2 separate regions of the Homo sapiens genome follow, and region 1 is linked to region 2. The links are contacts of gene promoters, found by promoter capture Hi-C in blood cells and fetal thymus (Javierre and others, 2016). All regions are on one chromosome and are shown on one strand. The core of a region is centred on a gene start or on the middle of the fragment in contact, and the rest is flanking DNA. Distances in the headings are between cores, read along the strand shown. Region 1 holds the start of FGF12-AS1 (FGF12 antisense RNA 1). Region 2 holds the start of PYDC2 (pyrin domain containing 2).

What was found. The method cuts DNA at HindIII sites, captures the fragments that hold promoters and counts their contacts. A CHiCAGO score of 5 or more calls a contact.
Region 1: the fragment with the promoter of FGF12-AS1 here is called in contact with the fragment with the promoter of PYDC2 in region 2 in 2 of 17 cell types (endothelial precursors and neutrophils); the score reaches 8.7 in endothelial precursors.

The regions. Positions count from the first base shown.
Region 1 is chr3:192,237,113-192,240,385 of GRCh38, forward strand. FGF12-AS1 (FGF12 antisense RNA 1) reads left to right here and starts at 1,518. Exons shown (of 5, transcript NR_046596.1): 1 at 1,518-1,572. All of the region lies in intron 4 of FGF12 (fibroblast growth factor 12), which reads right to left. The HindIII fragment of the contact is 8,524 bases long and covers 1-2,337 here.
Region 2 is chr3:191,459,842-191,463,004 of GRCh38, forward strand. PYDC2 (pyrin domain containing 2) reads left to right here and starts at 1,322. Exons shown (of 1, transcript NM_001083308.1): 1 at 1,322-1,615. The coding sequence starts at 1,322. The coding sequence ends at 1,615. The region is part of intron 1 of PYDC2-AS1 (PYDC2 antisense RNA 1); the gene reads left to right. The HindIII fragment of the contact is 8,936 bases long and covers 1-3,163 here.

The DNA of each region.
Region 1 (3,273 bases), core at 268-2,767, 780 kb after region 2:
AAATTATTGGCTGAAATTTCTTTTCTTTAAAGATGCTGAATATAGGACCCTGATCTCTTCTGGCTCATAAGGGTTCTGCTGAAAAGTGCACTATAGCCTGGCGGAGTTCCCTTTGTACATAACCTGCCCCTTATTTCTAGCTGTCTTTAAGATTTTTTTCTTCCACATTGGTTTCGAAGAATCTGATGACTACGTGTCTTGGGGATGGTCATCTTGTATAGTATTTTGCAGGGGTTCTCTGAATTTCCTGAATTTGCATGTTGATCACTCCAGCAAGGTTGGGGAAATTTTCATGACCAATATTCTCAAATATGTTTTCCAAGTTGCTTGTTCTCTTTCCATCTCTTTCAGGAATGACAACGAGTTACAGGTTTGGTCTCCTTACATAATCTCATATTTCTCAGAGCTTTTGTTCATTTTTCAAATTCTTTTTTATTTTTGTCTGCCTGCATTGATTCCAAAAAACAGTCTTCGAGTTCTGAGACTTTTTTCCCTCAGTTTGATCTATTCAGTTATTAATGCCTCCAATTGCATTATAAAATTTCTGGAGTCAATTTTTCATCTCCAGACATTCAGTTTGTTTCTTTCTTAAAATGGATGTGTACTCTTTCAACTCTTGGACTGTTTCACCGTGTTCTTGGGATTGGGTTTCAACCTTCTCCTGTAACTATATGTGGTTCCTTGTCATTCAGCTCCTGAATTCTGTATCTGTAATTTCAGCAATTTCATTCTGGTTAAGAACCATTGCTGGGGAGCAAGTTGTAGTCATTTAGACTCAAGAAGACACTCTGGCTTTAAGAATCATTAGAGTTCTTGCACTAGTTCTTATCTGTGTGGACTGATGCTCCTTTGGTATTTGAAGCTGCTGTCTTTTGGATGGGGCTTTTTGCTTTTCTATTATTTGATGCTCTTGAGGTTTTGACTATGGTATAAATTGGGTTTCATGGATTGGTTTCAATTCTGAATGCTTTTCTGGAGCCAAAGCTCACCTCAGCACTCTTGGGCTGCATGCTGTAATCCTGGGGGATGGGGGATTAGTCCTGTGGCTTTGCTCTCTGGCCCCTTGAGATTAAGCACCTGCTGTGCTGGAGGTGCTGAGGTGTTCCCAGTTCACTTGCAACAACACTCTGGCAGGGGCTGCTGGCAAAATTGCTCCAGTGGGGCAGTGGGAGTCTCCACACACATGTGCACCAATGGAGGAGGCTGCAGGCGAGTACGCATCAGTAGGGGGAGGCTGAGGGTGGGTGTGCACTGGCAGGGAAAGACTATGGGCAGGTATGCACTGACAGGGGGAGGATGCAAGCAGGTACGTGCTGGCAGGGGAGGTCATGGTTGGAGTGTGCCAGCAGGGGGAGACAATGGGTGGATGCATAATGGTAGGGGTCCACCAGGTCGTTTTCTTACTCCAAGTTTCAGTTTTGTTAACCTGTACTATAAAATGACTGAACTGTAATTTTTAAAGTTTTCTTAAGCAGAAAGACTTCAATTATTTTATTTGATGTGCCACTGGACAGACTTGTAAATGGAAGCTCAAGGAATTCAGTGAGTTGTCTCTGGAAAAGAGCAGAGCAGGTAATCCCAGGCTTTTGTGTTACATGTATATTGCTCTTTCCATCATCTTATGGCTGCTTCAAAGGTTCCTCACAGGTCCAAAGTTTACTCTAACTCAGTGAATTCCTTTGGTCATTCCACATGTAATCCTCCTGGAGCACATTATCAATGGCAATCTTTGGACAGTGCTAGGCCTATCAATGGTGAACCTGGGATGGCTGAAGCTCATGCTGAGTCAAGTCTATACTAATCTAATTCTCCCAAATGTGATGGGAAGTGCATTTTCCACAAACAGTACTCATCTTGGAAAGTAGACCAGCATCCTAATAAAAGCAGAGATTTTAGTGTAATACAGGTTAACATTCCAATCCCACAGAATGGGCTTGCTTAGTGTATAACTTTTCCTAGTCTTCATACTTACGAAAAGACATGAGGTCTATGTGTAACATGTAGAAGTGTACATGGCCCAAAATATAAATTGAGCCCAAAAAATATCTGCAGGATACATAAAAAGCTAGCTCTTTTCTATTCTCTATTTGGTTTGCATACAAATGGTAGCATCCATGCACTTTAATGTTATTCAAAATGAACAATAGAAAAATCCATGGAAACTTGTCCATTTTGTTTGCATTGATGTTTCCAGAACTACTGATTTTGATAGATTTGTTTTTCCATTAAAGAAGTAGGAACAAATCCCTGATCTCTTACACTGAATTGTGGTGAACAGAGTAAGATGGGAAATTGCTCTTTTAATACCAAATTGGGACAAAGCCGTTAATTATGTGAAGCTTATTCTAACAATAGCTCTTCAAGTGTGTGATGGACCAGGGGCCCCCAACTCCTGGGCCACAGACTGGTACTGGTCTGTGGCCTGTTAGGAACTGGTCACACAGCAAGAGGTGAGCAGCGGGTGAGTGAGCACTACTGCCTGAGCTCTGCCTCTTCCTGTCAGATCAGCAGTGGCATTAGATTCTCATAGGAGCATGAACCCTATTGTGAACTGTGCATATGAGGGATCTAGGCTGAGCGCTGTTGGTGAGAATCTAACCAATGCCTGTAAATCTGAGATGAAACAGTTTCATCTGGAAACCATCTCCAACCCCCAACTAGTCTGTGGAAAAATTGCGTTCCAAGAAACTGGTTTCTGGTGCCAAGAAGGTTGGGGACTGTTGTGATAGACTACTAATCCTGCTAATGGGGTAACCCAAGTCACAACTAAGTTTAAGGTTGGAAAGCCCCAGTAAATATCTGAGGTCTTAGTGAAACAGGGTAAGATGAAAGGTGAGAAAAAGTTGTATTAGACACTATGGGTGCAGGGGGGAAGATCCCAGAAATAATAGTCTTTGAATGAAAGTCCAAGATATGACCTTCTTGGTAGAGAAAAACTCAACCAGGAAAGTTGTCTTATACATTTTTCATAGATGTTGTGCATGTTGAATCCCCACCCTTATGGTAATCCATTAGTATGCTGAAGGCTCAGAGGAAATAGTACAAAACAGATGCATTCATGCTTCATTTTTCCATATGTTTGTTATTCAACACCACACGATGACTGATAGATCCCATATCTAATTACCATATACTGGAGAGCTTTCTGGATTTTTCCAGCCCAGCAGTGACAATAATTGCCATTCAAGAAAAGATAAATCAATGTTATAATAATAATACAATGACTTATCTGATTTCCCCTGTTATTTTTTTTGGAATATCAACTTTTCACTG
Region 2 (3,163 bases), core at 72-2,571:
GCAACTAGACAAGATAAGAAAGGCAACTGGATTGGAATGGAAGTGAAAGTGTCTGTATTAGCAGATAACATAATCTTGTATATAGGAAATCCTAAAAAATTCACTCGAAACCTGTTAGAACTATTAAATGAGTTCATCCAGGTTTCAGGATACAAGATCATACATAAAAATCAGTTTTTCTTCTACACACTTGTAATGAACAGTCCAAAACTGAAATTAAAACAATTCCTTTTAGAATCATATCAAAAAGAATAAAATACCTAGAAATAAATTTTAACAAAGAAGTAAAACTTATGCTCTGAAAATTACAAGACATTATTGAGAGAAATTAAAGAGCTAAATAAGTGGAAAGCATCTCGTGTTTATAGATTGGAAGGCTTAATTTACATTGTTAAGATGGCACTACTCCCCAAACTGATCTACAGATTCAATACAATCCCTGTCAGAACCTCAGCTTACTTTATGTAGAAATGGGCAAACTAGTTAGAAAATTCAAGTAGTATCGCATAGACCCAGTACAGCCAAGATGATATTGAAAAATAAGAGCAAACAAAGACAATTCACCTTTCCTTATTTCATGACTTAGTAATTTATTTAGTATTTCCTCATTTCATGACTTAGCATCTTAATGGTAATTAAGATAATGTGGTACTGGCATAAGGATAGGCACATTGCTCAATAAAACAGAACTGAGAGTCCAAAAATAAGCCCGTACATCTGTGGTCAACTGACTTTCAACAAGGGTTTCAAGACCGTACAATGGGGAAAGAATAGACTTTTCAACAAATGATGCTTAGGCAAGTAGATTTCTACATGCAGAAGAATAAAGTTGGACCTCTATTTCATGCCACATACAAAAATTAACTCAAAATATATCAAATACCCAAATGTAAGAGTTAAAGCTGTAATATTCTTATAGTAAATGATAGGGGTACATCTTTATGACCTGAGACTTGGCAAAAGATTCTTAGACATGACATCAAAAGCATAAAAAATAAGAAAAAAATAGATAAATTTGATTTCATCAAAATGAAAAACATTTGTACCTTAAAGGACACCATCATTAAACTGATAAGACAACTCACAGAATGGGAGCAAAAATTTGCGTATCGCGTATCTAATGAAGGACCTGTCCCTAGACTATATAAAGAACTCTTACAACTCAGCAATAAAAAGACAATAACGCAATTTTATAATGAGCAAAAATCTGAACTGATATTTCTTCTAAAAAGATATAAAAATATATACTTATTAGTATATGAAAAAATGTGAGAACCAGAGCATAGGGCCAGGCGTTGGGAGAGCTCCCACATAGGACAAGATGGCATCTTCTGCAGAGCTGGACTTCAACCTGCAGGCTCTTCTGGAGCAGCTCAGCCAGGATGAGTTGAGCAAGTTCAAGTCTCTGATCAGAACAATCTCCCTGGGAAAGGAGCTACAGACCGTCCCCCAGACAGAGGTAGACAAGGCTAATGGGAAGCAACTGGTAGAAATCTTCACCAGCCACTCCTGCAGCTACTGGGCAGGGATGGCAGCCATCCAGGTCTTTGAAAAGATGAATCAAACGCATCTGTCTGGGAGAGCTGATGAACACTGTGTGATGCCCCCACCTTAACCCCTCAGGGATAGTGAGTTGATGGCTGAGCTAGATGTTGCTTTAGCCTTGGTTCTGCCTCCATTTTACATGCACATGTTGCTTAACCTTGTTATATATGAAATATCTATATCACCAGTATTTTGAGATAAATAAAGGTGAAATAATTCACAAACATTAAAAGAAAAGATGCCTGACAACTTTAGTATTCAGGGAAATGCAAATCAAAACTATGATGAGATACCACTTCATATCCACTAGGCTGGCTAGAATAGAAAGATAATAACAAGTATTGGCACAGATGTGGAGAAACTAGAATCCTCATATACTGCTTATGGAAATGTGAAATTGTGCAGCCACTTTGGAAAACAGGATGGCAATTTCTCAAATGATAAACAGAGTTCTCATATGATCTAATATTATATTTATAAGTACATGATCAAGAGAAATAAAAACATAAACACAAATGTTTATAGTGTCATTGTATACAATAGCCAAAAGGTGGAAACAACCTAATGTCTGTGAATGGACAAATGAATAAACAAATTGTGGCATATGCAGCTAATGAAATATTATTCGACAAAAATGAAGTATTGATCACATGCTTAAACATGAATGAACATTGAAAACACTATGCTAAATGAAAGAAGCCTGTCATAAAAGACAAAATATTATATGGTCACATCACATATGATATGATTCCATTCATAGGAAAGTTCAGAATGGCCAAATTTATAGAGTCAGAAGTAGATAACAGGTTGCTTAGGACTGGGAAGGAGAGTTGGTGAGTAGAGGGGAATAGGGAGTAATAGCTAAAACATTTAAGATTGCTTTTCGAGGTGATGAGAATATTCTGAAATCAACTATGGTGATGATGGTACATATCTGTGAATAAGCTAAAAACATTTAATTGTATTCTTTAAATGAGTTGTGTGATATGTGAATTATATCTCAATAAATGTTAAAAATGCAAAAAATGAGACAATGAATGTTTACCATCTTTTCATATGTTTAAAGACCGTTAATATTTCCATTCAATGAACTATTTATTCATACTCTTGACAATTTTCCTTTTTTATTCCATTTTTGTTTTGTTTTGTCTTTTTCTCATTGATTCCAGGAACTCCTTTTATGTCTGAGAGATTAGTACTATCTGGATATGAGTTGCAATTTCTTTTCTTTTTGACTTTGCTTATGATTTTCCCCACAGCAGAAGACTACAATTTTATGTATATGCATTAATCTATCACTACTTTTATGGCTTCCAGATGAGACTCATAGAAAGATCTTTCCTAGTCCAAGGGAATAAAATAATTCTCCTATCTTTACTCCTGATTCATTCATGGTTACATTTTAATATTTGCCTTTAAATCTGTAATCTATTTAGCCACTTTTTCCCAACAAAGGTATGAAGTATGTATCCAGCATTCTTCTTTTCAGGCAGCCAGCCAAGGATACCAGAACCTTTATTGCAATCTCATCTTTTCCCTACAGATTTGAAATGTACAAAGTAAACTTCCTAATATATCTGGCTTTCTCCCCTCCCTCCCTCCCTCTTTTTTCTTTTTC